Regions from separate parts of the Homo sapiens genome. Here regions 1, 3 and 4 are each linked to region 2. The links are contacts of gene promoters, found by promoter capture Hi-C in human tissues and cell types (Jung and others, 2019). All regions are on one chromosome and are shown on one strand. The core of a region is centred on a gene start or on the middle of the fragment in contact, and the rest is flanking DNA. Distances in the headings are between cores, read along the strand shown.

Region 1 (2,700 bases), core at 147-2,646, 780 kb after region 2:
TTAGCCATACGGAGTCCCTAAGTGGCACAGGCGGGCCGATGACAACTGTTTAAATCCAGCGCCCACGTTCAGTTGGGATATTCTGACCCACTCAGGGCTGCTCCATAAAGCAGCGCGTGTCCGGATGCAAGAGCACCGAGAACTCGAAACCTCTCTGTCAAGCTGCCCATTCGGGGTTAAGTTCAAAGACAGAGGACAAAGGAAACGGATAAAGCGTCCGATACAAGAATTACCCATTTCAGAGGCACAAGACGAAGAGCACAGGCGGTGTCAGGACATGTTAGGATCCGTCCCCAGCGCTGCCGTCCTCGTCCCCACAGCGCCCCGGGACACCTGTCCCCCACAGCCCAGCTGCTCCTGCAGCCCCTGGAGAAATCTGTACATTCCCTGCCTCTGGGCACACAGGGAGGCTGGCCTAGGGGAGGCCTGCAGGGGTCTTCGCACCCCGCGCCAGTGTCCCTGGGGCCGCTGCCAGGGAGGGAGCACGAGGTCCCCCAGGCGAGGTGACCCGCAGGAGGTTTTGTGACGTCGGACGGCCCAGGCCCCAGAGTGCTGTGTGTGCTGGGGGTGGAGGGTGGTCTCCGAGAGGAGCCGTCGGCATTTCAGGTTAGGCACCCGGCCGGTCGGGGGTACTTGCCTGGGCTGGGGGGCTGGGGAGTGCGCTCCACCCGGGAAGACCCGGGGCGCAGGTGCAGCCCCGCACGGGGACTCCGAGCCGAAGTAGCGGGTCAGGGCCCTCCCCAGGAGGTCGGCACCCAGGGCCCTTTGTCCTACTACAACGTCCCGGCCACGCCGCGCGCCCCTGTGGGCCGAGTCCCCGCCCGCACTCACTCACCCACGGTGGCCAGCGTGTCAAAGTCCTGCAGGCTGTACACAGGCGGCTCCGGCGACAGCGCCTCAGGGCTGGGGCAGAGCGCGGGCGCCCCGTCGGGGGTCTCCTCCGCCACCTTGCGGGAGTCGCTCTCCGCCGCGGCCGCCTGGGCCAGCCCGGGCGCCTCCATGGGGACGCACTCAGGTCCGGGGCACCGGGCCAGGCCGGAGCGCTCGGGGAGCCGGGCTTCCCGGGACGCAGCCTCGGAGGGCGGCGCGGCGGCGGCATCAACAGAGGCTCCCCATGCGCGCTCTCGCCTCCTGGTGCGCGGTCCGGCGCGGCTGACGGAGCGACGGGGACAATGGCTGGGCGGCGCTCACGGCACAAGCAGCAACGGCCCCGAGTGGGAGCAGCCGCCGGCCTCGGGGGGCGGGCACCGAGTGCGGGACGACTGCGGGGAAGGCGGGGGCCGCGGCCCGGGCTGGGGGGGGCGAGGCGGGGGCCCTGCGCATTCCGGGTCTCGCGCCCGCCGCCTCCTCCAGCTCGGTAGCCGCGTGCGCGCTGTTGGGGCGGGCGGAAGCCGCCTGGGCGTGACCGCGCCTCTCCCCGCCCTAACCCGGCCGCGGGGCTGGGGGCGTCGCCTTCGCGCGCGCTCCGCCCCCGCCCCGACCCAGCCCAGGAGCCGGAGACCCGGGCGTGCGGCGCTGGGGAGGTGCCCACGCCCCCTCCGCGCCCGGGGCACCCCTGGGGTGGGACCCAGGCTGACTTCTCCTCGGGGACGCACTGGCGGGCCACCCGCGTCGCTGCACCCAAGCCCGGAAGATGGGGAGGCGAGGGGGCCCGGGGACAGGGAGGGCGTAGCTCAGCAGAAGTGAAGTTCAAAACTAAAAAGTGAAACTGGCGTTTGGTGAAGAGAGGGGCTCGGATTAGCCCGGCTAATTTTTGTATTTTCTCAGTAGAGACAGGGTTTCACCATGTTGGCCAGGCTGGTCTGGAACTCCTGAGCACAAGTGAACCGCCTGCCTCGTTCTCCCAAAGTGCTGGGACTACAGGTATAAGCCACCACGCCCAGCCTCTGATTGGCTTTAAGTCATAGAAAATAGGATTGCTCAGCTGGCAATCTGCATACAGATCCCCTCTGCCCTCCCCCCAAAAAGTTCAGTACTCCTGCGGGTGCTTGTTTGGGACCTGAGAGAATTTGGAATGAGGGCGGATCCCCAAGAGGGGCTGCCGGGTCTTCGGGATGAGTTCAGCGTCCTGGTTTTGCTGTAGGACTCTGGTGATTCTAGATTTCTACTTGGAAGGGGCGGGGAAGGGCGGGCTCGACCCTGTGCGTTTCTTTGCAGCTTCCTGTGGATCTAGAATTCTTTACAAATAAACATTCCTTTAAAAAACTAGGGAAAGACAGATTTGAGAGATCGCCCGACCAAATGTAGTGCGTGAAACTTGATTGGTCACTGTTTCAAACACCCCGGCGACAACCCTATAAAGAATTGTGCAGAGGCATTTCAATTTCAGAAACCCCAAAGATTTTTTTTTCCTGGCTTAAGTGTGGCTCAGGCAATAGTTGGACATACTTATATTTAAAACCCATATCCGTGTGGATTTGAAATGCAAATATAGCTAGATATTTGGTCACCCCTTTCCCCAGGGAAATGCAGACAGTGCTTAACTTGCGGGCCTGGCACGGCCTGGACGCTGCGCCCCTGACCCGCGACCAGGGCGGCCCAGGCTGCCGGTTCGCCGACCACAGTTTGAGCAGCAAGGGGTCAAACTGCAAACGCCTTTGTTTTGAGGGATCTCAGCGATTCTGCGATTGGAGGGGGTCTCCAGTCCCTCAGTCCGCAGGTCAGGGGGGCTTTCCGAGAGCCAAAGCGGCCTCTAAGTCA
Region 2 (2,715 bases), core at 35-2,534:
GTCCAATTCTTTGTTCAAAACGCCAAGAACCTGGACAACTTGCAGTCACGACCCTCTACCGGTGGCACTGGGGCGCAAATGAAGCTGGGAATGCAGGACCCGGCGCATCTGAGGAAGTGCAGCGGGGCATGGCGGTGCTAGAGGGTGGGGACATGGAGGCGGCACAAGGCCAAGGCGCCGGGGGATGGCCAGAGGGAAGTAACGGCCGCGCTTGTGGTGGAGATGGGGACGGGACAGAGAAGTCTTGGGGGGTGACCGGGGTAGGCACGGCGGTGCTGGGGGGAGGGCGCCCAATGAAGCCCACGGGGGGGAAAGGGGCGTGTCTTACCGAGCGTGTTGGGGGAGTCACAGCCGTGCTTGGGAGGATGGGGTCTGGGGGAAGGACGGGGCGCGTCTTAGTGGGATGAGGGGGAGGGCACAGCCGTGCTGGGAAGGCAAAGGGCCGGGGGGCGGGATGGAGCATGTCATGGTGGGGCCGAAGAGGCGGGGGGCGGGAAGGGGCCTTCTTAGAAATCGGGAGGGCGTCACAGCTGTGCTCGGGAGGACGGGGCGTTGGGGAGGGACAGGGAGCGTCTTAGTGGACCCGGGGAACACGGCCGTGCTGGAAGGCATCGAGCTGGGGGGTTGGGGGCGGGACGGGGTGCCTCTTAGGAAGTGGGGCGGGCAAGGCTACGCTTCGGGGGATGGAGCCTTGGGGCGGGACGGGGCGCGTCTTAGTGGGGCAGAGCGGGGGGCGCGGTTCGGGGCGGGTCTTAGGGAGCCTTTGAAGGCCGAATCCGGGCAGCGGTGTAGCTGGGCGTGGAAGGCGGAGGACCCAGCAGGGCGTGACCGGCCCAGTTTCCGCTCCCTCCGGGTCCCGGCCAGCCTTCCTCCGCCCTCCCTTCCCTTCCTCCTTTGTTCTCTTTCCCTGCCCTTCCGCCTTCCCTTCAGTTCGGTCTCCTCCACCCGCCCTTCGTCCCCTCAGTCGCCCCCCATCCCTGGGCTCTGCTGTCTGGCGTCTTTCCCGGGCACAGAACGCGCCTCCAGCTACATTTTGGAGACTACAAGGCGCCGGACACAACCACGCCCTTTACAGGGGCCCAGGCTCGCCCGGGGCGCCCCTCGCCGTGCTCGCGACCCCCTCCCCAGGCCCCCACCCTAGGCCTTAGTATGGGCCGCGTCCCGGGGTCCCAGGCACCTGGCGGCGGGCGCGGCGCGTCCCCTCCGCGCGGCGGATCGCATGGCCGAGCGCTGGCCCAGAGCGCAGGACCTTGCCCTGCGCACTCCGCGCCCGGGCGCCGCTAGTGCCAAGGCTTCCGCCCTCTCAGCTGCGGGATCTGGGCCGGGCGCCCGCCCCTCCTTCATCCGCGTCATCTCCTGGCTCTCGGGACCTCCGGGACCTGCGCGTGGAAACAGGTTTTCCCAGGTCGTCACACGGGAAGGCCTGGGCTAAGGAGCTGATTAAACCCAGTTACGATTGACCGGGCGCGGTGGCTCCCGCCTGGAATCCCAGCAGTTTGGGAGGCCAAGACGAGTGGGTCACCTGAGGTCAGGAGTTCGAGACCAGCCTGGCCAACCTGGTGAAACCCCGTCTCTACTAAAAATACAAAAATTAGCTGGGTGTGGTAGTTCACGTCTGTAGTCCCAGCTATTCGGGAGGCTGAAGCAGGAGAGTTGCTTGAACCCGGGAGGTGGAGGTTGCAGTGAGCTGAGATCGCGCCACTGCAACTCCAGCCTGGGCGACAGAGTGACACTCCGTCTCAAAAAATAAATAAATAAAAATAAAAAATAAACCCAGTTAGGCTTGAGCACAGGGAGCCCCTTTTCTTTTTGTCAGGAAGGGTCTTAGGACCTACCCAGAGCAATCAAGTTGCGATTTCAGTTTCTCAAAGCTTGGTGTTTGAAATGTCTGTTCCGGATGCTGGACTTGTACTCTAAGTCTGGGACGGGGAATGCTAGATGGGCCCTTTTTTTTTGCTTTTATTACTATTATTATTATTATTTTGAGATAGGGACTCACTCTGTCGCCCAGGCTGGAGTGCAGTGGTGCGATCTCGGCTCAGTGCAACCTCCGTCTCCTGGGTTCAAGCGATTCTCCTGCCTCAGCCTCCCGAGTAGCTGGGACTACAGGCGCGTGCCACCACGCCCGGCTAATTCCAATTGCTATTTTTATCTTTGTTTCTTTCATCAGACTGCTGTTGAAATTACTCCTTTTGATTAATCACTGTGCCCTGGACCCCTCCCCATCTTTTCTGTGACTCATCCTTTTGTTTTTGAATGATGCTATTTTGCTCATTACCCTCTCACGTAATGCTTTTTTTGTATCTTTGGCTCTCCCTTTGTTGTTTGTTTGTTTTGTTTTTAACTCTTTTGACCTCTAGAAAGATCAAGGCTGAGAGTTGAGGCTGCAGTGAGCCTTTGTTTTTGTCTAACTCTCTTGACCTCCAGTCGCTGATTCTCTCAAGCCCCTTCATGTCTTACCTCATCCCCTCACATCCCCTCACAATGCAAGATCTGGTCAAAGTATAAATTCATATTTTGTAGGAAATGCTAGCTTACAAAACAATATCACATCCCTACCTCCAGCCCAGGTGACCCACTTTCCCTCAAAGGGGGTTGCTTAGGTCCTCTTCCACTGGTCAGGGACAAAATGATTCCATAGTCTTCAAGATTAACAGTACTTTCTTTTTCCAAGGCTGAGGCTGTCAAGGGTGAGGCTGTCACCGCCTCCCAAGG
Region 3 (2,937 bases), core at 35-2,534, 620 kb after region 2:
TTCGAAAAGCAGTGACACTGATGGCCTTAGAGGCTAGGTACCTTAGAAAGGATATATTTTCATGTGCATAGAAAGATTCCTCCCTCCCTCCCTTCCTTCCTTCACTAAAAGCCATCCTTAGCTCAAGGAGAGGGAGTGCTTCCTTGCTAACAGCCTTGCAAGACACGGGATTCTCCAGGCAGGACGAGGAGCTGAACATTTCCAGAAACCTGGTCAGATGGTTCTGCATTCTTCTAAAAGATTTGCTGAGACACATCCACTTGCTGCCCTCATGGCAAAAGATCGCATAGATCTTGTTGCCATCTTCTGTGTCTCAGCGAAATAGCCCTGAGCAAAATCGCACATTAAATCTTCTGGTTGCAGAGTTAACTCATCTGTTCTCAAACAACCTGGCTTACAGAAGTGGATGCCAATCCAAAGCATGCCCAGAGGGCACATGGGTATTCTTTAATGAGCCAACTTTCATTACATAAGACACTCAATTGTGATCATTGGTGAATTTATCAAGTTGGCAGGGCATGTTTCCACACAGTCATCCTTTTTATTCTTCAGACATCTTTACTCTTTCATCAGCCCAGAGAAACAAATGTTTAGAGACGATGATATTTTCTCAATGTGTACTGCAGTTTACTATGCAGAACCCCTAACATAGACACCAGCTCTCATGGCCTGAATGCTTTGATTACTGTAGATGATCAATTCAGAGGTATTATTAGATCTCAGAGTGAATTGATTTTTGGTTTTTTTTGGAAGATGGGAAAGGTGGAGTTCACCAAGAGTCACTCTGCTCATTCCAAGACCCTCAACTCTCCATGAAGTTCTTCATTTTTGTCTCAAGTAATTCTTTTAAGTATATGTGCTCACCCAATAAAAATCTCTGTCTTGGTGAAATTGTGGAGGTGTAAAGTCAGACAGAGAGAGAAACTCTTGTTGCCTTCTTTAAAGGATAAACATGCCTTTTTCTGATCAAACTTGAGACCCTCCAAAATTAAACTAGCTGTTAAGTGTGTGACCCCAAAAGGAAAGGAAAAGGTAAAAGGAAGGAAGGAAGGAAGGAAAAGAGGGAGGGAGGGAGGGAAGGAAGGAAGGAAGGAAGGAAGGAAGGAAGGAAGGAAGGAAAAGAGGGAGGCAGGGAGGGAGGGAAGGAAGGAAGGAAGGAAGGTAGGAAGGAAAAGAGGGATGCAGGGAGGGAGGGAAGGAAGGAAGGAAGGAAGGGATCTTTCTATGCACATGAAGATGTATCATTTCTAAGGTACCCAGCCTCTAAGGCCATCATTGTCACTGAAATGTTGTTGTTGCTGTTGTTTGTTTTTGAGAGAGTTTCACTCTGTTGCACAATCACAGCTTCACTGCAGCCTCAAACTCCTGGGCTCAAGCAATCCTTCTACCTCAGCCTCCCAAGTAGCTGGGACCACAGGCGCATGCCACCATGCCCAGCTAATTTAAAAAAAAAAAATTTAGAGATGGGTCTCACTACGTTGCTCAGGCTGGAGATTATTTTTTAAACCAAAAAATATGAGAAATCCTTAGCCCCCTACTTCCATTTGTATTTTGCTTCTATCTAAAAAGTACCCAAGTTGTTTAATTTCACAACCTGAAAGCACTGGAAAGCTTTAGATTGGAAATGCAGGATTTCACTTTATGCGATGGGACTAGACCATCACAAGATCTAGTGGTGACTTGAATTTTGATGCCACAGATAATCCTCTTTGTTCAAAGTGCCCTGTTTAGAAATTCATACATCAGGCAATGCAGCCCTTACAATATGTTTTCATTGTGATATTGAGGAAGAAAAGATACAGGAAGGGAGAAAGGAAAAGATGCAAAAAATGAGGAAAACATTACATACTTTATAAAATATAAGAACCATAGGCTGGGTGTGGTGGCTCACACCTGTACTCTTAGCACTTTGGGAGGCCAAGGCAGGAGGATTGCTTGAGCCCAACAGTTCGAGACCATCCTGGGCAACATAGCAAGACTCTATCTCTAATTTTTTTCATAAAAAATAAAATAAAAAATAAAAAAGAACTATGAAAAGAAGGGTTTTTTTTGCCCTCAGGAAACTTGCAATCTAAATTTTCTTCTAAACCCGGATTTGCTTTAAATGACTTGTCTAAATAAACTTATCTTTCCATGTCATTTTTTATCTTGTTTTTTTAGTTGTTGTTTGCTTACTAAACCTAAGCCTGGGGGCCAGGAGTGGTGGCTCACACCTGTAATCCCAGCACGTTGGGAGGCCAAGGCAGGCGGATCACTTGAGGTCAGGAGTTTGAGACCAGCCTGGGCAACATGGTGAAACCCTGTCTCTACTAAAAATACAAAAATTAGCTGGGTGTGGTGGTGAGTGCCTATAATCCCAGCTACTGGGGAGATTGGGCAGGAGAATCACTTGAACCTGGGAGGCGGAGGTTGCAGTGAGCCGAGCTCGCGCCACTGCACTCCAGCCTGGCAACAAAGTGAGACCCTGTCTCAAAAATAAATAAATGAAGAACCTAAGCCTTGAAGAAATAAATCTTTTAAAATTTCATTATGATTTTACTTTTGCTACCAACAACACCAGCCTTCTCTAAAAATCTAACTTTTGCTTGTCAACACTCAAAAACAACATTGGTGGAAGCCAAATGTACCTCAAAAGATGAATTTCATGCTTTTTTAGAGGAAAAAGCCTCATGAACTGTGCTAGGTATTTTGATGATCAGCTCTTCGCATGGACATCTTGTCATGAATATTTATTCATAGGACATTTTCTTTTCTTTTTTAAAGGCTAATTGATATTTTCATCTGAGCCAAACAGTAAATGTGGCATAGGGAAAGTTGTGTCTCACTATTGGATTCCTGAGTTAGTGAAAGAAAAGAGCTTGTATCTTCTAAAAGTGGAGGTGAATTATGTTTATTCTATAAAATACATAATAAATATCAATAATAATAGATACATAA
Region 4 (2,792 bases), core at 149-2,648, 690 kb after region 2:
GAGGCCTGAGACACCTTGATCTCAGACTCCTCGTCTCCAGGATGGGGAAAGCAGAAATTCCTGTTGTTTAAGCCCCTAGTTTGTGGTCAGTTCTTATGGCAGCTACTGGAGACTCGTAAACCACACAGAGGGCCCCAAGAGAGCCAAGTGGTTCAAGCCTCACACCCCGGTGTACTGTGTCTCTCCAGACTGTAATTTACAGGGTCAAGACGTATATGGAAGTTCCTCCATGTATAAGTCCCTCTGAGGTTGTCCAGAGCTAGAAATGGCCAACAAAAAGTCCATGAATTCTGTCAAATTCAGGGATGTCAAAACACGCATATCAGGTATGATACTACTTAAGGAATAGTCTGTTTGTCAATTATATACTTGCCTCCACACAAAAAGTTTGTGGAAATCATACCTGATGCACAACTTTTAAAATCATCACCTGCGCACACAAAACACCTACTCTCATGTCCATGGCAGAACCATTCACAAAAGCCAAAAGGTGGAAACAGCCCAGATGTCCATCCATAGATGAATGGATAAACAAAACGAGGTCTGCCCACACAATCGAATACTATGCAGTCAGGAAAAGGAAGGAAGCTCTGACACGGGCTACAGCCTGGATGAACCTTGAAGACATCGTGCTCAGAGAAAGAAGCCAGAGGCAAAAGCTTACATTTTGTACAATTCCATTTTTAGCAGAGCCCAGAACACCGAACCCTACAGAGAAAGTCAGTAGATTAGTGGCTGCTTAGGGTAGGGGTCCCCAGCCCCTGGGCCACAAACTGGTAGTGGTCCACGGCCTATGAGGAACCAAAATGGGCCGCACACCAGGAGGTGAGCAGCAGGCAGGTGAGCGAAGCTTCACCTGTACTGACAGCTGCTCCCCATGGCTGGCATTAGCACCTGAGCTCCGCCTCCTGTCAGATCAGCAGTGGCATTAGATTCTCATAGGAGCACACACCCTATTGTGAACTGCGCAACTAAGGGATTTAGGTTGTGCGGTCTGTGGAAAAACTGTCTTCCACAAAACTGGCCCCTGGTGCCAAAAAGGTCGGGGACCGCTGGCTTAGGGCAAGAGAGGATGAAAGAATAGCACAGTGATAACTGAAGGGTGCAGGGTTTCTTTTTTTGAACTGATGAAGATGTTCTAAGATTAACCACAGGGGTGGCTGTACATAATCGTGTGTATACTAAAAGCCACCGAATTGCACATTTTAGATGGGTAAATGGCATGGCGTGTGAATTCACTCTCCGTAAAACTGTTTAAAAAATAAAATAAATAAGTAAACAAAATAATGAGTAATAACTTATGCATTGTTATTGCTCTATTAACCTTGCTTGAGGGGAGGGGAGATACGGTGTAGACCCAGTTTGACGTTGTGGGCCCAGAAACCGAGATTTGATAGATCTTTCCTGGCAGTTTCAAGTAAAATTTAAAAAAATAAATAAAACACCAGATTTGAAATTTGGGCAGTGATTAAATACGACCGCTAAGCCTTGGTTTATACCTGCACATGCCAATGTGGGTGTTAGACGGCAGACACGCACATCGGGTACCACTGAATACCCACGGGATCAAATACTGACCTTCATGTTTCCTAATCGCCTTGTTCTGTCAACCACGAGCAGTTTCTTAATGAGGTCTCTATGTTGGGGAAGGAGACAAAAAAAAAAAAAGTACACAGATTATATATCAACATCAGCAAACGCAGCATGGCAACAGAGATAAGATCTATCTGACATGAGGACCGCAGTTCAATTTCCACTTTGGCAAAACACTTTCTAGTGCTTATTTCCTACCATCACCGGCTCTTAAATCACCTATGCAAGGCTGGGTTGCCCCGTGCAAGGCTGAAGCTAAGGGAAGGGGGTTGATTACATCTTTGTAAAGAAAATACACCTCTGAGTAGAAAAGGGTGAAATTTATATGTGCCTGCAGGGAGGATCCAGACACTTAACGTAAACATGCCTGTCAGGCTGTCCCTGCAAAATAGAAGACATCTGCTTTCACCAACATCAACACTCACGCGCTGTCCTGGGGGTCTGCTTATTGATGGGATTCCTGTTTTAAAAGGCTGGCTTTCCCATAAGCACACACATTAGGATGAGTCTCCTAAGTCTGCTTCTTCACTTATAATCTTCCTTTTAAATAACAGACCATGTCAGAAGTACAGCAGGTGGGGAGGTTGGGCATACTGGCTCACACCAGTAATCCCAGCACTGTGGGGAGGCCGAGGCGGGTGGATCACTTGACGTGAGGAGTTTGAGACCAGCCTGGCCAACATGGTGAAACCCCATCTCTACAAAAAAAAAGAAAAAGAAATTCGCTGGGCATGCTGGCACACAACTGTGGTCCCAGCTACTTGGGAGGCTGAGGCACAAGAACCGCTTGAACCCAGGAGGCGAAGGTTGCAGTGAGCTGAGACTGAGCCACTGCACTCCAGTCTGGGTGACAGAGGTAGAGTCAGTCTCAAAAAAAAACAAAAACAAACAACAACAACGACAACAAAAAACAGCAAGCTGCTTCAATTAGGATGGGTAGTTGGAGATGATGTTGAAGACTTCCAGGAGATTAGGTGAGTTCTAAAAGATGCATATTTATGGAAGTAGAAATGATCATGTGTGTCTGTGTGTACACATAAAATACACAGAGTACATTATGTATAATAACATACATAATATGATATAATAATATAATATATTGAAGTCCCCCAAAACAATCCAATACCCATGACCCCGGTGTAAGCGTCTAGGCTTTCCCAGCATAAACTATGCCCCAAGGTAAGTAGCACGAACTTGGA

Evidence for each region. Contacts are between HindIII fragments. The study calls those that stand out against the background at their distance.
Region 1: a contact is called between the fragment with the promoter of PRKX here and the fragment with the promoter of ARSD in region 2, in 1 of the 25 tissues and cell types used here (small bowel).
Region 3: a fragment that was not itself captured here is called in contact with the fragment with the promoter of ARSD in region 2 in 1 of the 25 tissues and cell types used here (mesenchymal stem cells).
Region 4: a fragment that was not itself captured here is called in contact with the fragment with the promoter of ARSD in region 2 in 2 of the 25 tissues and cell types used here (IMR-90 fibroblasts and small bowel).

The regions. Positions count from the first base shown.
Region 1 is chrX:3,712,253-3,714,952 of GRCh38, forward strand. It overlaps PRKX (protein kinase cAMP-dependent X-linked catalytic subunit), which reads right to left and starts at 1,397. Exons shown (of 9, transcript NM_005044.5): 1 at 836-1,397. The coding sequence starts at 1,001. RefSeq lists enhancers at 21-330, 2,662-2,700 and silencers at 501-780, 821-950, 971-1,700. The HindIII fragment of the contact is 15,008 bases long and covers 1-2,700 here.
Region 2 is chrX:2,928,055-2,930,769 of GRCh38, forward strand. It overlaps ARSD (arylsulfatase D), which reads right to left and starts at 1,285. Exons shown (of 10, transcript NM_001669.4): 1 at 1,178-1,285. The coding sequence starts at 1,221. RefSeq lists silencers at 773-932, 953-1,302. The HindIII fragment of the contact is 14,341 bases long and covers 1-2,715 here.
Region 3 is chrX:3,545,789-3,548,725 of GRCh38, forward strand. No RefSeq gene overlaps it. Among named protein-coding and RNA genes, the nearest start is that of SNORA48B, 15 kb to the left of the region's middle. The HindIII fragment of the contact is 5,478 bases long and covers 1-2,937 here.
Region 4 is chrX:3,619,681-3,622,472 of GRCh38, forward strand. It overlaps PRKX (protein kinase cAMP-dependent X-linked catalytic subunit), which reads right to left. Exons shown (of 9, transcript NM_005044.5): 6 at 1,579-1,636. Among named protein-coding and RNA genes, the nearest start is that of PRKX-AS1, 38 kb to the right of the region's middle. The HindIII fragment of the contact is 4,454 bases long and covers 1-2,792 here.